4 separate regions of the Homo sapiens genome follow, and all the other regions are linked to region 1. The links are contacts of gene promoters, found by promoter capture Hi-C in blood cells and fetal thymus (Javierre and others, 2016). All regions are on one chromosome and are shown on one strand. The core of a region is centred on a gene start or on the middle of the fragment in contact, and the rest is flanking DNA. Distances in the headings are between cores, read along the strand shown.

Region 1 (5,275 bases), core at 2,012-4,511:
ATATACCGATATTTATTTACCCATTCTACTGCTGACAGGCTGCTATGAACATTCTAGTATATGTCTTTTAGGGAACATATTTATGCATTTCTGTTGAGTATATACCCAGGGGCAGGATTGCTGGGTCATATTATTCAGCTTCAGTAGATACTGCCAAATACTTTTCCAAAACAGTTGTATGTACCAATGTATAGTCTCACTAGCAGTATCTGAAAAATCTAGTTCTTAATTTTAATCTATGTTAATGTATCATTTTTTCTTTATGTTTAGTACTTTCTATAGCATGTAATAAATCTGTGCCTATATTAAGGTTGTAAAAACATTCTCTGATTTTCTTCTAAAAAGTTTTATTATTTTATATTTAGATCTGCAATCCATTTGGAATATTTTTGTATATGTTGTAAACCAGGAGTTAATATGAATATCCAATTGATCCAGCACCAATGTATTAAAAACACCTTCCTTTCCCCACCCCTGTCATATGCAAGGTGGTGGTCTATGTGTATGTCTGCATCTGGACTCTATTCCCTTCATTGCTCAGTTGATCTATTCTTACACCAATAGCTACCTCATTGTCTTAGTTACTATAATTTTATATTTGGTCTTCATATTCAGTAATATGCCCTTCCAGCTAAAAATACGTATAAAAATTCCAGCCAAAAAATGGCTGGGCCTAGTGGCTCACACCTGTAATCCCAGCACTTTGGGAGCCCAAGGCAGGCAGATCACTTGAGACCAGGAGTCTGAGACCAGCCTGGCCAACATGACAAAACCCTTCTCTACTAAAAACACAAAAATTAGCTGGGCATGGTGTCACTCACCTGTAATTTCAGCTACTCAGGAGGCTGAGGCATGAGAATCGCTTGAACACAGGAGGCGGAGGTTGCAGTGAGCTGAGATGGCACCACTGCACTCCATCCTGGGCAACAGAGAGAGAATCTGTCTCAAAAAAAAAAAAAAATACACACACACACACACACACACACACACACACACATACATATACTCAATATGCTATATCTATTTTTTAAACCTCATGGATTATTGTGGATTATTGAGATTTTTAGTCTATTATTTATGTTCATTTAGATTTAGTCATGTTTTTTACTTTGTTCTGTTTTTACTGCACCAGGCAAGTGGACCCCAGTTTGGTTCTATAACAATTTGTAGTTTTACTATAATGCGTGGATTTCTTCTACTAGGTGTAGATTTCTTTGACTAGATAAATAAAAGGGTTTCTTTTATTTATCCCACTAGAGAGTTATATGGCATCTTATATCTGTGACCTGGTTCCTTTCATAGGTACTAAAAATATTCAGCCCTTATTTCTTCAAATACTGTCTCTGCCCTAGCTTTATCTCTCGTTAAACTTAGTTCGATCCTCTTACTGTATTCTCTATCTCTCTTACTCTGTCTTCTGTAGGGTACATTTTTTGTTTCTCAATGCTTTATTCTAGATAATTTCTTGTGACCTACCTTCCTTTCAATTTATTCTACATTCAGCAGTGTCTAATCTGCCATTAACTGAGTTCTTAATTTAGTTACTGTATTTCTCAATCATAGAAGAGAAGTCTATTTACTTCTTTTTTTAAATCTGCTCTATCACTTTGTATAGTTTTTAGGTACCTGCCAAAATTGTCCAAGTTATCTTTTTTATTTCTTCAGGCAAAGAAAATATGATTTTATTTTACTTTTTTTCCTAAAAACTCTAATAGGTAAGCAAGAAAATATACATATGTTTTAAGCCAGGGTCTTGCTCTGTCACCCAGGCTGAAGGGCAGTGGTATGATCGTGACTTACTGCAGCATCAACCTGCTGGGCTCAAGCGATCCTCCCATCTCAGCCTCTTGAAGAGCTGGGACTTCAGGGCTGTGCCACCATACCTGGCTAATTTTTGATATTTTGTAGAGACAGGGTTTTGCCATGTTGCCCAGGCTGGTCTTGAACTCCCGAGCTCAAGCAATCCACCTGCCTTGGCCTCCCAAAGTGCTGGGATTATAGACATAAACCACTGTGTCCAGCCCAAGAAAATATTATTTTGCGGTTTGCATCAAATAATTCTAAAAGCAGTTGTTTCTGCAGGTCTATTTCCAATGTTTGTGTTTCTGCTGGTTCTCACTAAGAATCTAGTTTCTTTGTGTACCTGGTTATCTTTAATTCTGTATTTGACATTGTCTATGAAAACTTATGTGTAGGAAAAATGTCGGCCCTACAATTATAAGGCTTTCCTCCACCTATTTGCTTTTGCCAAGCATCTGGTGACACCATAGTCAGAGACAGTCTTAAACCAAGATAATGTCTGAGACAGGCAATTTGATGCAGTCTGTAAATTCCTTTTAAGCTGTTCCATTTTCAATTCATCCTCACCCTGAGGCTGTTGCCCTTTGGGGTCCCAGTTATTGTAAGGAGGGTCTTCTTCTTCTTCTTCTTTTTTTTTTTTTTTTGAGATGGAGTTTTGCTCTTGTCGCTCAGGCATGGAGAAACCCCATCTCTACTAAAAATACAAAATTACAGGCATGGTGATGCGTGCCTGTAATCCCAGCTACTCTGGAGGCTGAGGCAGGAGAATCACTTGAACCCGGGAGGCAGAGGTTGCGGTGAGCCAACATCGCGCCACTGCACTCCAGCTTGGGCAACAAGAGCGAAACTCCGTCTCAAAAACAAATTTATATATTATATATATATGTATATATATATACACATACACACACACACACACACACACGTATTCCAGAATTTTATTTTTAAATTTTATTGTTGTTTTCTACAGTGGGTTGATACAAATATCCTAGCCCATCATCTCCCCACCCTGCTTTCCTTTTCTTCATGGTCCTCACAATCGCCTGGGGTATTATCTATTTATTTTTCTATTTGTTATTGTCAATTAATTTCAATGTAATTAAGTTCCAAGAAAGCAGGAACTGCGTTTTGTTAACTGCTGTATACGCAGGGCCAATAAGAATGTGGGGGTAGATCTTACACACTCAGAATAGATAACTGAATGAATGAATGAATGAATGAGTGAATGAATGAATGACAGGGAAGGCGCTTCACCGGAAAGGCTGAAGGAGGTCTCCCAAGGACCGCTGTGAGGAAACGGGGGGCGGCGTGGGTGGGTGGCCGCTACCCACGGTTCCGGACGGCCCTCGGGGGCGCGCTCGGGCGGCTTCCAGCTTCCGGGTTCGAGGGCGCGCGCTGCTTCCCGGGAGAGGGCGGGCTCCGTGGCAGCCCCCTGTGGGCGGAGCCGGCGGCCGGGGCTCACAACCCGCCGGAAGACGCGCGGGTTGTGGCAGCTGCAGCGGGACCGCGTGGGGTGGGCCCCGGGACCGCCAGGGCTGCAGCGAGAGCGGCCGGCGGTGCAAGCGGCCGGGAGGGCGCGGCCGGAGGCAGAGGCCAGGCGAGACACCCGGCTGCGGCCTAAGAGGCCAGGCTGGGTGGGCTTGGCTGCAGCCGCCAGCCCCGTGTTAAAGCGGCAGCCAGGGAGGTGTATCCTCCCCGGGGTCTGCAAGACGCCGGCTCAGGGCATCCCTCCCATTCCGGCCCTCAAAGCCTCGCTCCTGGGGGCGCTGCTGGGAAAGCCCACCCGCCTGGGCGGGCCCTTGATGGGAATGTGGAGCAGACCCTCGTCCACTCCGGAGGCCGAGGGTCCTCCGGGCTTCCGAAGGAAGCCGACCTCAACGCTGGACGCTTCTTGGAGAATGATTGCGTTGAGTGGAGATGTGGTCTGTCTATAAAAGGCCGGGAGGGAACAATATCTGTTACCACTCAGTCCGTCTCTAAAGAGACACTCTTTACCGCTGAAAACCTCAAGAGTGAGCACTCCCACGCCCCCGTCTCTGGTCCTACCTGGGTCCAAGGCCGATGTGGTGAGTAGGAGTCTGTGTGCAGTCTTTGAGTCCGAGGGTGGCATGTCTGGGAGCACTGTGAGGGTGGGGCATCTTCGATATGAAGCTTCTCAGCCATTAACTGTTTCCCGAGTAAGATTCGAAAATTCGTGCACTTTGGTAACAAGACTTTTTATGTATTCAGGGGTGGGATATTTCTCACAAGCTCCAATTCCTAGAACACACGCAGCTCCTGTCTCTGCATATAGTCACACACACACACACACACACACACACGCCTATAAGTCACATACCCATCCTTCTCCAACAAACTTCAAAAAGTTGGGCCAGCTCCCTTCCCACGTAGCTCCGACTGTTCTTGGAGTGCCGTATACTTTGGACCTGGTCACGGTCAAAGCACCTGCTCAGATTCTAGGGTTTGGTTGAGATGATGGATTTGAGTTGTTTCCAAATTTGCCTATTACTATTCTGCAGTAGTCCTCATTATACTAAATTTACACCATTTGAAGACATACCCTCTTCCCCAATTTTAACATTTCTGAAACCAAGATGCATCTTCCCAGTGTGGTTCCAAGGAACTTGCCAGCTGCTGGGCATCTGCGTGGGTGGTGACGTGGCTGTCACTGCTTGTTCATGCCAAAATGCAGCTATGTCATTATTCTGTCAGTTGAGATATTTTGAACTTTAAATTCAGATTTAATGGTTTCTAAAAATAACTTTAAAAATTAATACTATGATTCAGCAATATGATAACAGGTTTATAACAATGTTCATTAAGGGTTTACTGTATGCCTAGCATTGTCTCAACCAACATTACAACTCTATAGAATACAATTATTATCTCCATTTTATAGATTAAGAAACTGAAGCTGAGAGTTGAAGTGTCATAGAGCTTTTAAGTGCAAGTGTCAGGTTTCTAAGCCAGGCTGTCTGATTTCAAAGCCTGCCCTCTTAAACCCCGTCTGTGTCCAGGCAGAAGATGCATGCAGCTTACAAGGAGGGAAGATGAGGCATGGTCTGTGCATGTTTGTACATCTTTGCATGTTTGTGTATGTATGTATAGAACTGGAGATAGAGCCACGTCCAGGAACATGTATTATATTTATTCCTGCATGGATATTTTTCTTTTGGGTATTTTGCAGTTTTAAATATATTTCTGCAGATTCTGGAGTTCTGGAGACAAGTGCTTCTGGATCCCTCTTCCCTTCCCTTTTGCTCCTCTAAAGAGTATGGAGACATGAACTCAAACCTAACTAACTGGCTGCCTCCCAAAGAAAGTGCTTGATTTAAAGGGGAGTTTGTTTTCCAGAATTGTTAAAGTCACATCAGTCTCTAGGAACCCCCAGGTCCTGGTGCTGCAGGGACACACCAGAGTCCTGAGGGCAGGTGATTGGAATCTGAGCAACACCCCACAACTGTGAAGCGTCTCA
Region 2 (4,974 bases), core at 942-3,441, 290 kb before region 1:
TAAACTCGGGAAGAAGGCCAAATGATGACCATGACACAACTTGCTACAAAATATTAAAGCTGATGCTGGGGGTGAGGGGGCAGAATTTAAAAGCACACTTAAAATAGTTGAATTGTGAAAAGGCATAAAGAAAGCGTGGTGATTAAGTGTGGGCTGAGGAGCCAGATGGCTCTAGTTCAAATCCTGAATCTAACACCTATTGGATGACTTTGCCCAAATAATTCAATCTCTCATGTTTCCTCATTTAAAAAAAAAAAAAATTCCCAAAAGACAACTTGACAGTGGCTCCTCATTTTTGAAATGGGCTGATAATAACTCCTAGCTCATGGAGTTGTGCATATTAAATAAGTTTAGTGGCCGTAAAGCTCTTAGGAAGTGCCTAACCCATACTATGTGCTCAGTAAATATAATTATTTCATTAGGAAAGTTAATCCTGAACTATGTGAAATTTAAATTGGAATGTATTCTTTAAACATTAAATGTGACCATCCTGAAAGAAATTCTCCTTTCTTGATAGTTTCAAGGAATAGTCAGAATGCTGCCAAGCTCCTTGAAACCATGTAGTGAGAAATGTAGAGAGAATTAAGGGTGAGGGGAGATTTTTTTTGCTTTGAAAATGTAGTCATGCTTATTAAAGAAAATTTGAGAAGTTTAGAAAAGTATAAAGATGACAAAAATTGCTCATATTCCTGCTACCTCAGTGCTAACCATGTAAGCATTTTAGTTAATTTCTTCTAGTCATTTTCCCCTTGGACATTAATTTTTTCAATGTACAGACATACGTGATTATAACACATATACAGAACTAGAGGTTATTTAGCCTAGAGAAGTGAACCAATGTAGCAGTCTAGATGAGGGATATTGGGGGCCTGGTTTAGGTGAATGGCTACAGAGATAAAGCATAGGGACAGGAGACAAAGATATTTCTGAGATAGAATCAACAAACTTTGGTGTGGTGGTTTCAAAGATAGTTTTTTAGCTCTGGCTCCTGAAAGGAGGCAGATGGAACATAGGAGGAAGAGCATATTTGCTGGGGAAGATGTTTGGTTTTGGACATGCTGAGTTTGAGATTTGAATAGGACATCCAGATGGAAATATGTAATAGGCAGTTGAGGTATATAGCAAGGACTTGAGAGAGTAATTTGAGGGTAATCTGCTTGGGATGTGAATGAGAGCACCGAATAGTCAAATATGGTGCGTAAGTGAGCTAATTTTTTACTTATATATCTGACCCCTTAGTATATATCATAGCCTTTCAAGGGCAGGAATAGAGTCTCCATCCTTACTTCCCAGCACAGTACAAAATAGTAGGTATTTGTGGAATGAGTTTACTGAAACAAAAGAGAGAGGTCATTAATTTGGTCACTGTAGAATGAACTTTAGGAGGTCATCTTTATCATTTATTGCCCCTTTTCTCTTCAGTTGTGATTTCAGTTCCTAAAGAAAAATAAGAGACCGTGGCTGGGTACAGTGGCTCACACCTGTAATCCCAGCACTTTGAGAGGCCAAGGTGGGAGGACCACTTGAGGCCCAGGAATTTGAGACCAGACTGGGCAGCAAAGAGACCCTGTCCCTACAAAAAAAAAGTTTTTTTTAATTGGCTGGGCATGGTGATGCACTTCTCCAGTCCTAGCTACTCAGGAGGCTGAGGTGGGTGGGAGAGAGGATCACTTGAGCCTAGGAGTTTGAGGTTATAGTGAGCTGTGATTGAACCACTGAACTCTAGCCGGGTTCAAGCAATTCTCCAGCCTCAGCCTCCCAAGTAGCTGGGACTAGAGGCATGCGCCACCACGCCCGGCTACTTTCTGTATTTTTAGTAGAGACAGGGTTTCACCATGTTGGCCAGGCTGGTCTGAACTCCTGACCTCAAGTGATACACCTGCCTCGGCCTCCCAAAGTGCTGGGATTACAGGCGTGAGCCACCTTGCCTAGTCCAGTTTTTTAAATGCAAGATTAGGTTGAAAGGATTACAGCCATCCTGTTATTTGGATGGCTGTAATCCTTTCAACCTAATCTTGCATTAAAAAAAAAAAAAAAAAAAAAAAAAAGCCGGGCGCAGTGGCTCCCAGCACTTTGGGAGGCCGAGGCGGGCAGGTCACGAGGTCAGGAGCTCGAGACCATCCTGGCTAACACGGTGAAACCCCGTCTCTACTAAAAATACAAAAAAAAAAAAAAAAAAAAAATTAGCCGGGCATGGTGGCGGGTGCCTGTAGTCCCAGCTACTTGGGAGGCTGAGGCAGGAGAATGGCGTGAACCTGGGAGGTGGAGCTTGCAGTGAGCCAAGATCGTGCCACTGCACTCTAGCCTGGGCTGACAGAGTGAGACTGTCTCAAAAAAAAAAAAAAAGCAAAAAAAAAAAAAAAAAAAAAACCACAAAGGCTGGATGCGAGGTGGCTTTTGCCTGTAATCCCAGCACTTGGGGAGGCCAAGGCAGGCGGATCACTTGAGGTCAAGAGTTCGAGACCAGCCTGGCCAAAATGGTGAAACCCCATCTCTACTAAAAACAGGAAAATTAACCGAGCCTGGTGGCGCACAGTTGTAATCCCAGCTACTCAGGAGCCTGAGGTGAAAGGATCCACTTGAATCTGGGAGGTGAAGGTTGCAGTGAGCCGAGATTTCACCACCGCACCCCAACCTGGGTGACAGAGTGAGACTTGATTAAAAAAACAAAAAGAAAGAAAGAAAATGCCTGGCTAGCCACAGTGGTTCATGCCTGTAGTCCCAGCTACTTGGGAGGCTGAAGTGGGAGGATCACCAGCAGTGATAGAATGAGACTCTATCTCAATTTAAAAAAAAAGTGATAATGAAGAAGATTGATTATTCCAGCCATTCTTCACATACCCAGAGTATGCTTATAGTGGGTATAAGAGATCTCACTACTTAATTTGAACCAACACATGAGGGGGTAAAGATTTAGGAATATAAAAAGTATAAATTAGTATAGAGCAAACTGGAAGTTCCTCAAGAGTATTGAATCTTTGAAATTGTGTAGCTTACAGAAGTCCTGGTGGAATGTCTGTCAGAAGCTATTAGATTGGTGGCAAGAGCGTTCTAAGTGGACAGGTGGATTGTGGAAAGACTAACCCCATCTGTATGCACTCTGTCCTTCTCTTTGCATACTTTAGTTAGCAGTTGGTTAATTTGCATGTGTGGTTTCAGCCATCATGTTGTATTGACTCATTCTGAAAGCTCTGTGAGGATAGGCCACATGTCTGCCCGCCCCCACTGCATCTAGCACTTTATGTGTGATAATCTATTGAAAAATATTTGTCAAATGAATAAAATGGTGAATGTATTCAGCAGACATTTAGTGAGACTTGAGAATGTCCTGTGGGGGTGGAAGTGGGTAGAGGAGTGGTAGGCCTATAAGGATTGATGAGACATAATGTCTGACTTTAAGGAACATAAATCTGGCACTAAATATAAATTTTTGAAACTCCTTAATTCTTAGATTAGCCAATGCAGACAGTAAGTAACTTACTGACCTAAACCAGAATTTTTTTGTAACATAGATTTTAATAAATTTCTTTGTTTTTTGTTTTTTGGTTTTTTTTTTTGAGACAGTCTTGCTGTGTCGCCAGGCTGGAGTGCAGTGGCGCAATCTTGGCTCACTGCAACCTCCGCCTCCCAGGTTCAAGCGATTTTCCTGCCTCAGCCTCCTGAGCAGCTGGGACTACAAGCGCGCGCCACCACGCCCATCTCTAATATTTGTATTTTTAGAGACGGGGTTTCACCCATGTTGGCCAGGATGGTCTCGATCTCTTGACTTTGTGATCCGTCCGCCTCGGCCTCCCAAAGTGCTGGGATTACAGGCGTGAGCCACAGCACCTGGCTGATTTTAATAAATTAGGTGAAATCTTAGTTATGTAACAGACACCCATTCTGCATTCTTTCTCTACTAATTCAGCTGGGAAGCAGGATTGCTTAGGGGTCAGTTTTATAATGTTACTCAGTTTTTTTATTTTATTAAAATTAGGGATTTGATTAAGTGGTGACATGTTGCTTTTCTGAAATTACAGAAGGGCATTTATCTAAAGTGACTGTGACCAAGTAGCAAGATACTTAATTGAGTAGGTCGGTATACTAAAAATAGCTCAACTGACTGTAATGATTCAGGTATGCAAAGATCAGATAATGCAATATATTAGTTAAGGGAACTTTTACTGTATATGGTATAATGGTCTATGGTATATTTCCTTGTAAGTTGTTTCTCTCTCTCTCTTTTTTTAAATGTTAAAGTAATCAAGATGATGCTAACAGTCAGTTACCAGAACTCATACAGGGACCATTTGTGTGGAAACTAAAGCTGCAGAAAATCCAGCAGAATCCTGCGCTACTATTGTAGTTATTTGTAGTTGTTTAGGCAGAAAAATCAAAGACAGGAAGTTAGGAATGTTTGAAGACATTATTCTAGGGTAATGAATTCAGATAAGATGTATTTCACTCATGTTAAAGCTATCCTCTGAAAATAAGACTTGCCTATAGAAGTATCCCCAACCAAAAGCCTATTAGGAACTCCCTAGCCCAGTCAGACAGAATGTGTATTCCAGGGAGAAGGCTGTATCCTGCTTATGTTAGACTGTACTACATACTTCACGTCTTAACTAGATATACCAATTAAGAATAGGCAAAACCTAATCAGTTGTCAGAAGGAAGATATATATGAACAAGAGAGAAAACAACTCCATGGAACTCAGAAGGAGAGTCCCCAAACATGAATTTGGCAGTGATTTTTCAACACTGTCCAGGGAGAACATAAGCCAGCTTTCCACCATCATTTGGACAAATTTTTAGTGATAGGACACATATAATTTATCAGGCTTTATTGTGGTTTCATTTTCTTTTGGTTTAGATTCAATACTCACCAGATAACTTCTCAGATGCCACAGTATGAGGAATAGGGTACCCTGTGTGGTAAGAGGACTATTCCCCCCATTGTAACCAAATAAACTGGCATTTGGCCTATATGGTAAT
Region 3 (5,211 bases), core at 530-3,029, 270 kb before region 1:
CTGGATTTACTGAGGAGCTTAGGTAGAGTATGTTTTTCACAAGACATCTAGAGAAGTGAAAGCAACAATCAAAATATGTAGGCTTGAATCTTGACATTGTCATTTACTAGCCATACAGCCTTGGCCAGGTAGCTTTATTTTCCTTATCTATAAAGTAGGCACAACAGTAGTAGCCGTCTCACAAAATGGCTGGATAGTTTAAATGTGATAATATCTAAAGCACTTAACACAGTTCTTGGCATATTTTAGACACCTTACAAACATAGACCCTAGTATAAGAATTCTTTAAGCCTGGGGTGCAGAACTAGGGAGGATCCGTCGAAGTCAAGATTGATCAGAGGTGAAACCTGAATTTGCACAGAGAAACAATGTGGTATACACAGAGATAGCCTCCTATGACTTCATCTACATTTTTAAAAGCAGTCATATGGGCTGGACAGAGTGGCTCATGCCTGTAATCCCAACACTTTGGGAGGCCGAGGCGGGCAGATCATGAGATCAGGAGTTCAAGACCAGCCTGGCTAACATGGTGAAACCTTGTCTCTACTAAAGATACAAAAAATTAGTCAGGTGTGGTGGTGTGCGCCTGTAATCCCATCTACTCAGGAGGCTGAGGCAAGAGAATCACTTGAACCCAGGAGGCAGAGGTTGCAGTAAGCCAGGATCGTGCCATTTGCACTCGAGCTGGGGCGACAGGGCGAGACTCCGTCTTAAAAAAAAAAAAAAAAGGCGATCATAAGAGACCAACTATAAACCTGTATGCTAATTTATTTATTTGCAGTATCAGGTAGTGTAAGGAGATAGATTGCTTACCTCTAATAGCAGCTGCAGTATTTTATGTTTGGGAAAGTTAATCAGACTGAGATGTAGTAATGGTTATTCTCAGCACCTGACACATGCCAAAACAATTCAAAAGCAGCAGCAAAACACTACATTTTGGGTTTGATTCCTCATCCTGTAATAATAACAACTTTACTCTCTCAGCCTTTGCTTAATTAAAACCCGTTTTGTTTCTAATGTTGTATTAGGCATTGGCAAATACAGCAAACTGTATGGCCCAGTTTGTTTGCCAAAAATAGTTACAGAAAGAGAAGTACTAAGCTCAATGATTACTGCCCTAAATTCAGTAGAAGTGTAAAGATAGAGAATTCTGTGTTTATAGAAAAATTGATCCTTGAATTGGAGCTTTAAGTAATGGTGGGGTTTGGATGGGTGGAAAGAATGGTTTGGAGATGACTGAATGGTAGTAAAGCACAGGTACTAATGAGTACTTTGCAGGGATCCACTGGAGAATAAATACCCTGCTTAGGGCAGAGTGGTTATTGAAGTCTTGTGAGAAATAAGACCTGTTGGGGTTGGAAAAGAAGGGCTTGGAAACTCCATTGCATTAATGGTTAGATTTGATGCAGTAGAAATTAAGAAGGCTTTGCAGTTAGGAAGTGACATGTCTGAAGTGGTGTTTTAGGAAGACTAGACAGAAAGAATATGTATTATGTTTAGGACAAGAGATTGTAGCCAGCAAGAGGACAAAGGACAGGACTTGCTGACCGGGCAAAAACAGAGGAGGATGTACAGAGATACCTTCAAGAGGCTCATAAGGCTTCTAGCTTGGGAGACTGGAAGAATAGTGGTGCTCTGCTGCTAATTAGAAGAAAGAATGGGTGGAGGGACAAGGGAGAGTCTGGGAAGATGATAAGCTTTGTTTTATACATGATCTTTCCTGGTTTATTAATAACAATGTTTGGAAACAGGATTTTTCCTGATTGTGTTGAGTTTGCAGGGAACTGTGTTATAGGAAATACGATTTGATACTATTCACAACAGGGGGTTGGCACCCACCCAGCTACCTGTTTTTATAAATAAAGCTTTACTGGCACAAAGTCTTACATTCATTTCTTGTCTGTGGCTGCTTTTGTGCTACAGTGGCAGAGGTGAGTAGTTGTAACAGAAACTCTCTGGCCAGAAAAGCTAAAAATATTTTCTGTCTGTCCTTGTACGAAAAATATTTGCTAACCTCTGCTCTACAAGAATTAAATTTTCCAGTCTATTTCAGTGGTTTAATATCGGTTGGTCTAACCCTCCGTGTTCTACACGTGATGAAACTGAAGCCAAGCTGATAATGTTTCCAAGGCCCTTCCTGCATTAAGCTAATTAGAAAGGCCAAGCCCAGCTGGAATGCAGGTCACCTGGCTCCTTGGTCAGCCTTCTTTCCACTCTACCACCTATTTCCATGTGTTAGACATTGATAAGCCATGGTCTGATTGGGAACATCTTGGTGATATATCATTCTGTTCATATTTATACATATAGGTGTGATTTAAAACATTTTTATCATGATGTGGATTAATTTGTTAAATATACCAATGCAAAACATTTAGTACACATAAAGTTATCTTAAAATTATTTTAAAGGAACCCTAGTATCATCGTATCATCATAACTAGTCAGTCTTTTTTTTTCCTTTCTTTTTCTTTGAGATGGTGTTTCACTCTTGTTGCCCAAGCTGGAGTGCAATGGCGTGATATCGGCTCACTGCAACCTCTGCCTCTCGGGTTCAAGTGATTCTCCTGCTTCAGCCTCCCGAGTAGCTGGGATTACGGGCACGTGCCACCACGCCTGGCTAATTTTTGTATTTTTAGTAGAAACGGGGTTTCACCGTTTCTACTGGTGACCAGCTGGTCTCAAACTCCTGACCTCCTGTTATCCGCCCGCCTCGGCCTCCCAAAGTGCTGGGATTACAAGGCATGAGCCATCACGCCCAGCCACTAGTCAGTCTCTTATCCTAGTGATACTTTTCTTTTGCAAGTGTCAACAGAATTAAAAATAATCTGTAGTTTGCTTTGGAAAATTACTAGTGAGTCACCAGATGTTGATTAATTAGAGTTTAAATTCAGCATACGTTCTAAAGTAGCAGAGTTACACACATATTTGCCATCTACTTCACCTGAGTTCAGGAGAAGAGTTAACTTGAGCAACAGCTGGGAATAAAAGTACATTGTATGTTGGTACCTGGGGGTATCCCAATAATAGGCATATGTAATGGGAAACCGCTGCTGGGGAAGATTTAGCCAGACACATACAATTAAGATTAATTGACTGGGTCATCTGAAAGTCAAAATTCAGAACCTAGTGGGTAAAGAGTGAGTCCTTTCAGATATCTGGTAGGTCTGGAAGGCAGAAGAATTTCATGGAATCCTGGAGTTTTAGGTTGTGATACTTTATTTATGTAGAATTGAATGAGATGACATTGCTATTAACTTTACATATTAAAGGATTTTAATAAAAGTTATAGACTTGGCAGTGGCTCAGTGTCCCAAGTGGATGTTTCCTATATTTTTTCATTACTGAAAGGGGAAGTCTTTGCAAAGATCAGGTTTTCAACATAGAAAAGATAACATTTTAAACATCAAGCACTTCTATTTTAAAGAGCTCAAGAAATCTGTCAGCAGAGTTCTTGGCGCAGTTAAGGCAGGGGTCCGTTTCATTCTTAATCCCTGAATGAACTACATCTTCGGTATCTGACGTGGTTGATAGACACAATAGCAGATGGTTGTTTCTTTTCCTGATGGGGAAAGGAAAGGACAAACAGGATCCAATTTACTTACCAGCCTAACACTGTTGGGAATTGACACAGTCACTAGGTATAAATGATAGAGCAGATACCTTTAAACAGGACCCAGTGGGAATTCAGTTTGGGAGTAGAAGAAAAAGTAAACAGGAGTATAGAAATTCCAGATGTAGTTTAAGTAAGAATCAAGATTAAGATGAACTCTGAACAAGGAATAATTACAAAAGGTTTAATTAAGTTTAAAATATGCCACCTCCACCACCTTCTTTTATGCTAATTGGCTGCCTGTTAGACCATTGGTGTTTAATTGCCTGATTATTTTGAAAGTCTTAATACTTCTACTTTATCCTTGTGATCATACAAGGAATGAGATAATACACTCAGAATACACTAATGACAGAAAGTCTGTGTAAAGAAATTGAGGATTTGCTTGTTTAGGTATTTTATCTCCTAAAGCACAGTTCTTTCAAATAGCTTTGAAGAGACGTCTTCCCAGAACTTTGTATGCATCTGGATCTCACTTCTGATCTTACTTTCATGGGTTATGTGTGGGTATTTTGGTTGGTGTATGATTGCACTGGAGGGGGTCATTATGAAGAGTCGATCAGACATATTGTCAAGAATTCAGCAGGACGTTTCAGCCTTCTTTCAGATACACACTGTGATAGGGTTTAAATGGAAGCATTGGTGACCATTTATTTCTTTAAGAAATATACAAGGTCCGTGCAGCATCATAGTACTGGTCTGTAGCATTACTGCAGTTTAAAAGGAGTCTCATGTTTTTAAAACTGGTCAGTATTCTTTTTTCCCAGGTAATGTCTTTGAAGCTAACAGATGATTTTCCCAAAGATATCTAGGGTTACTTGAAATGTAAGTTTGCTAACTGTAACTCCCACCTTTCTTCTACTCAAGGATGCAAGTGAATGAAGTATTATTATATGAATAAGCTTAAATCTACTTTGATTCCTTTTTGAAAAAATAAAACATTTATCAACTTTGATTTTTAAAATCTATTACTAGGAACAAATTGTTTTCAGTATACCTCAGAACTAATCAGGGAAATACTGCATTGAAAACCACTATTCTAGAGAAAGGTAATGATAAAATATTAATGGCACTGGCCGGAATACTAGTTTACATTGATAGCCTAAGCAGGAAAATAACTTAGGAACGTAAGTATGCTGCCTGTACCCACCTTCTGTTATGCCAGTTGGCTGCCTCTTATGCCTGTTATTACTGTTGTTTAATTGCCTGATTATTTTGAAACCTTTCTAACTGTATCTAATCTTGCCTTTTCCTAATTTGTTTTCTGCAGTGGCCAAGGTGATCCTTTTTCTTTTTTAAGTAAAATTAGATATTTTATTTTGAGGTAATTTTAGATTCACATGTAATTACAAGAAATAATGCAGAAATGCCTTCCATTTATTCAGTATACATTCATTGGAGGTGTCTGCTGGGCAATGGGGTTACAAGAATGAACAAGACAAAAGGGAGAGAAACAACAGACAGTGTTCATACAATGTGAGATTTAGAGGTCTGAGCTGGAAATTAAGAGTTCTAATCACCATTTGAAACCAGAGAGTGAATAAGATTAACTTTTTTAGAACTCTGAAAAATAAAGGCTTTACAGCAATCTGAGGAGGT
Region 4 (5,554 bases), core at 1,233-3,732, 320 kb before region 1:
TGCCTTTAGATTTCACCTTGGTTCATAAACCAAGGTAGGTTCTCCCCTACCAGACACCAGCTACTCACAAAATGGAGCCAGAACAATGGGAGTAGAAGTGGGAGGAGGAAGAAAAAGTAGTTGAGATAATGAAGGATAAAGAGAAGGAGGAGTTGAGGAGGAGAAATTTCAGCAGCTTTTTTATTTCAGAAATTGTTTCAGAGAATCTTTTGTTTTCTTTCTGTAAAGAAAGAACTTTATCAAAACCTCTTTTGGAAGCCTCTAAATGCCATTGAAAATAACTTTTCCAATTGCTCTGTTTTATTTTAGAGCCAGCTTATTCTAATTGAGCATATAAGTAAACTAGATTAGGCATTTCAAAGGCACACCATTTTGGCCATTATAATTTGGAGTCATTGTGAGTTATTCACGAGCAGTTTTCTAAATACTTACCTGAAAAGGCATCATGTCATATGTGTTAACTATAAATCCAGCTGGAGTTTCTAATAGTGGGTCTCTCTTAAGGAGGAAGGTTCAGTTTTAGATGCACAGTTGCCCATAGTGCATCAAAAGACTTAGGGAAAGTTGTTTTGAGATCAAGAAAGTTGTTTTGAGATCCCTAAGACCAAAAGACTTAGTGAAAGTTGTTTTGAGATCGAGTGTGCTGCTTGCGAAAATAGCTCCTCAAGGTGTCACTCTTGAGTCAGTTCTTCTCACATACAAATCTCAATGATACCAACAAACTTGGATGCTTAAGATACAGGGTAATCAATCCTTTATGTGTGCTCACCAGATTAAGCAAGGTTTCCTTTAAATTCTACTTAAGGGATTTCCTGTGAGACTGTTACTTATCAGGAGTGATTAACTCAGATACTCACACTAGACCTTAGTTGCTTAAGGTGACTTTTAGCTGGGAGAAACAGTGTCTATTATCTTCAGGACTTATTTCATCCTTATACAGAGTATTTCATAATTTTGGTCACTCAAGAAGCAAGCTTGAATTTGTCAATTGAACCAAGCCTCAGAACCTGGCTAGCTTTAAATATTATAACATTTTTGCTTAAACCACAAAGATTTACTTCCTCTTTTTAAAAATAAACTGTTTTTCACCTTATCAACATTTTGAATGAGAGAAAAAGTTGTAAAAACTCTAAGGAGTAATTCAAAACAAAAACCTTAACCTCACAGAAAAGTGAAAGTCACAATTTTTTTTTTTTTTGAGACATAGTCTTGCTCTGTCACCCAGGCTGGAATACAGTAGTGTGATCTCGGCTCACTGCAACCTCTGCCTCTTGGGTTTAAGTGATTCTCCTGCTTCAGCCTCCTGAGTAGCTGGCACTACAGGCATGTGCCACCACGCCCAGTTAATTTTTGTGTTTTTAGTAGAAACGGGGTTTCACCATGTTGGCCAGGCTGGTCTCGAACTCCCAACCTCAAGTGATCCACCCACCTCGGCCTCCCAAAGTGCTGAGATTACAGGTGTGAGCCACTGCACCCGACTGAAAGTCACAAATCTATGATCAGCAGAATCTCTACAGAATAACAAATGAAACTCCTATCTTGCAGCAGAGCTTTAATTCTTACTTCCTCCAGTTAGAAGTGTATAGCTGGAATAAAGTCTGAATCCTCATCAAAGCCAAGAGGACTACAACCTGAGAGGAGCCTTACCAGGGATCCCCATTAGTTCTTTTGAGGGTGGATGAACAAAAGTTGTTCATGCTGGTACCAAGATTTTGGCTGTTAGTGAAATGACAGGAATCACTGGAATGAAGGTTTGCCTTAGGTCCCTTCATGGTCGCCAAAATGTCAACCTTAATAATGAAATTCAGGCAACAGTATTAAATATTGAGTTTATTCGAGTGTAAATTTGAGGGTGGCCATCTGAGAGGATATAGACTCCAAAAAGATGGGGTCAGTGCTCTGAAATGGAGAGGTTTGAGGGTGCTTAAATAGGTAAAGTCTGGGGAAGCTTACCAGGATTTCAACATTTTGCATACAAGATTAATGCATAGATACAGCAATTTGATTGATTATATGCAGTGTTTCTTTTGGGGGAAGGGTATATTTCACATTTCACATTAAGGATGTAATAGTCAAGGGGTCTTTTTTTCTTGTTTGAGCCAAGTAAAAGAAAATAGGAAGGAAGTTAATCTATAACAAAAGGCCGCCACGCACAGTGGCTCACGCTTGTAATCCCAGGGCTTTGAAAGGCTGAGATGGACAGATCATTTGAGTCCAGGAGTTTGAGACCAGCAACCCCATCTCTATAAAAAATGCAAAAATTAGCTTGGTGTGGTGGCATGTGCCTGTAGTTCCAGCTACTTGAGGGGCTGAGGCAGAAGGATCTCTTGAACCAAGAAGTTGAGGTTGCAGTGAGCTGAGATCACTGCACTCCAGACTGGGTGACAAAGTAAGACCTTGTGTCAAAAAAAACAAAAACAAAAAAACAAAAATGCCAGTAAACAAGAGGTCATGCTTTGTGACTCAGTCTCCAAAGTCAACCTTGCTTAGGGCCTAACAACTTTTAGAAGCTCAAAATAGACTATTTTCTTTCACAATTTTAAATTAAAATTAAGTAAATAATGCTAGAATTGTAAATTTCATTTAAAAAACAATTCAGTCTTATTAAATATTTTTGTACAAATAGTTATTCCCAATGCTAATATTCATTGTCTATTTATGATTATGTAAATGTTCAGTCTTACTCTCTACTCATGTTACATCTAGACAGATACATGTATATATCAGTGTATACGCATATGTGTGTATGGAGACAATTAAAAAAAGGAACATCTGCCACTACCAAGAAACAATACATGGTTATGCAAGAAAATGCATTTATGCTATCTAAGAGGAAGAGTATGACAAGCTAATTTGTGTTTTCTCTTACCCAAGTGCTTCTGTAGCTCGAACACACTCTACGTAGCATTTCAAAAACAGTGTGCCTATTTCTCTTAAGTAGCACAACCCAAAACCTTCAAGACATTAGGATGCAGTTGTCTTTCATTTTTTTAATGGTGGTAAAATATGCATAAGGTAAAGCTTATCATTTTATCCATTTTTAAGTGTATAGTTCAGTGGCATTAAGTACATTCACATTGTTGTGCAAGCATCACCACCCTCCATCACCGTAACTTTTTCATCTTCCCAAACTGAAATTCTACATCCATTAAACAATAACTCTGCTGGCCTCTCTCTCCCCCAGCCCCTGGCAACCACCATTATTCTTTCTTACTCTATGAATTTGACTACTCTATATACCTCATATAAGTGGACTCATACAACATTTGTCTTTTTATGATGCTTGTTTCACTTAGCATAATCAACATTTATCCATGTTGTAGCACGTGTCAGAATTTCCTCCCTCCCCCTGTTTTTTCAGGAATGAATTTCTTTCCTTTTTAAGGTTGAATAACATTCCATTGCATGTCTATACCACATTCATTTATTTATTCATTCATTCATGGACATTTGGGTCATTTTTATCGTTTGGTTATTATGAATAACAGTGTTGTGAACACAAATGTACAAATATTTGTTCATGTCTCTGGTTTCAATTCTTTTGGTGCCTTTCAGCTTTGAGTATATGGAGCAAGAGACGTGATAAAGAGGTTCCCTAAAGCCTGAATAGTAGTGGTAAAGAAAGCAAATATTTATCCGGGTGTGGTGATGCACACCTGCAATCCCAGATACTCAGGAGACTGAGGCAGAAGAATCTCTTGAACCCAGGAGGCAGAAATTCTAGTGAGTTGAGATCACCCCACTGCACTCCAGTCTAGTGACAAAGGGGAAACTCCGTCAAAAAAAAAAAAAAAGAAGAAGAAGAAGAAAGAAGGAAAGAAAGAAAGAAACAAAGAAACAAAGGAAGAAAGAAAAGAATAGAAATGGAAAAAAGCTAGGCTTGTTGTTGCATTTCTGTAGTCTCAGCTACTCAAGAGACTGACGTGAGAGGCTTGCTTGAGTCCAGGAAGGCCAAGGCTGCAGTGAGCTGTGATCATACCACTGCATTTCAGCATGGGTGACAGAGTGAGACCCTGCCTCAAGAAAGCAAATATTTAAGATTGTACTTGTGCTGAGTGCTGGATTTCAAATGATAGGGGTGCCCATGTGTTCTTTAATATAGTTACTGTGTGTGTGTGTGTGTGTGTGCATGTGTGTGTGTGTAAGAAAGAGAGAGAGAGGTTTGTGTAGTCCTCTAAAGTGTGGGACCCAGGGCAGGGCCCTTGTTGCCTGGACTTAGGGTGGTATTGTCATAAGCACATACATGTATTAGAACTGGGTGAGTGTAGCAGTGAGTGTAGATAGAAAAGAAGTTGACAGACTATGCCTGGGACACTTAGAAATCACAAAGAAAAGAGAGAATAAAAGAAAAGAAATCAAGAAAAAAAACACCAGGAGAATGTGCAGACTTGGAATCCAAGTGAAATTAAATGTTGGGGAATTATCGACAATGCCAAATACTGCTAAGAGATTGACTAAACAAGGACTGATAATTCACCTTTGGACACACACAAAAGTAGAACTCACTGGTGGTGTTAAAATGAGCTGTTTCATTGACTGGTGGGGATAAAACCTGACTGAGAAGAGTTCAAGTAAGAATGAGAAGAGGGTAAGTAGAAACAGAAGGTCTGGCCAGCTCTTTAGAGAAGTTTTTCTATAAAAGGAAGCAAAGAAGTGGGATGGAAGCTAGATGAAGATGTGGTGGAGTCACTAGAGATTTATTTTTCTTTTTGCCTAACAGAGGTGGAACAGCTGATGGCCCCACATCTTCAGCTGAAGCTCCACAGTCACACATACAAGTGCCTATCTGGCATCTCCATTTAAATGTCTCATAGGAACTCACAGGAAAATCAAACTTAACCTGTTCCAAATAGAACTCTTGATTCTCCCTCACTCTATCCCCAGTCTGTTCTTTCCTAAGCCTTCCTTTTCTCAATAAACATCATTGCCCACCATTCAAACCAAAAGCCATGTAGCCATTCCAGATTATTTCAATTTCCTCAAAAACAGTGCATCAGCCTGTTAGTTCTACTTCCAAAATACATCTCTAACTTGATCATCTGGAGTACTACAATAGGTTCCCTGCTTTCATTCTCGCCTCTCACCACCTATTCTCACATGGCAGCAAGAGTGTAAACCAGACAAAGTTACACCTCCACTTAAAGCTTTGATTACTCAGTAAAACAATGATTACTCAGTACACTTCAAATCCCCACTGCTTACCTTGAGCTATACTGTCCTACATGACCTGGCTCTTTGCTCCTTCTCCAATCTCATCTTCACTTCTTTCTCTCTCTTGCACCATACTCCAGACATGCTGGCCTAAACCTAATTATTTGTATTACAAAGATATAAAAAAATAGAGAATAATATTTATATATATATACATATATATACTTTTTTTGAGACAGAGTCTTGCTCTGTCGCCCAGGCTGGAGTGCAGTGGCGCAATCTCGGCTCACTGCAACCTCTGCCTCCCTTCACGCCATTCTCCTTCCTCAGCCTCCTGAGTAGCTGGGACTACAGGCGCCCGCCACCACGCCCGACTAATTTTTTGTATTTTTTTAGTAGAGAC

The links. Contacts are between HindIII fragments. The CHiCAGO score rates a contact against its expected background, and 5 or more counts as called.
Region 2: a fragment that was not itself captured here is called in contact with the fragment with the promoter of ZFP69 in region 1 in 5 of 17 cell types (naive B cells, naive CD8 T cells, total CD4 T cells and 2 more); the score reaches 6.2 in naive B cells.
Region 3: a fragment that was not itself captured here is called in contact with the fragment with the promoter of ZFP69 in region 1 in 6 of 17 cell types (naive CD4 T cells, total CD4 T cells, total B cells and 3 more); the score reaches 8.1 in naive CD4 T cells.
Region 4: a fragment that was not itself captured here is called in contact with the fragment with the promoter of ZFP69 in region 1 in 13 of 17 cell types (naive CD8 T cells, total CD8 T cells, M2 macrophages and 10 more); the score reaches 9.8 in naive CD8 T cells.

Annotation. Positions count from the first base shown.
Region 1 is chr1:40,474,029-40,479,303 of GRCh38, forward strand. ZFP69 (ZFP69 zinc finger protein) reads left to right here and starts at 3,262. Exons shown (of 6, transcript NM_001320179.2): 1 at 3,262-3,866; 2 at 5,008-5,275. RefSeq lists a silencer at 3,001-3,470. The HindIII fragment of the contact is 9,111 bases long and covers 1-3,949 here.
Region 2 is chr1:40,183,496-40,188,469 of GRCh38, forward strand. The region is part of intron 1 of RLF (RLF zinc finger); the gene reads left to right. Among named protein-coding and RNA genes, the nearest start is that of RLF, 25 kb to the left of the region's middle. RefSeq lists a silencer at 3,051-3,240. The HindIII fragment of the contact is 6,433 bases long and covers 1-4,974 here.
Region 3 is chr1:40,209,166-40,214,376 of GRCh38, forward strand. All of the region lies in intron 5 of RLF (RLF zinc finger), which reads left to right. Among named protein-coding and RNA genes, the nearest start is that of TMCO2, 36 kb to the right of the region's middle. The HindIII fragment of the contact is 168 bases long and covers 1,696-1,863 here.
Region 4 is chr1:40,152,539-40,158,092 of GRCh38, forward strand. It overlaps LOC105378671 (a long non-coding RNA gene), which reads right to left. Exons shown (of 3, transcript XR_947232.3): 2 at 5,203-5,307. Among named protein-coding and RNA genes, the nearest start is that of RLF, 6.1 kb to the right of the region's middle. RefSeq lists an enhancer at 917-976 and a silencer at 1,177-1,316. The HindIII fragment of the contact is 1,073 bases long and covers 1,947-3,019 here.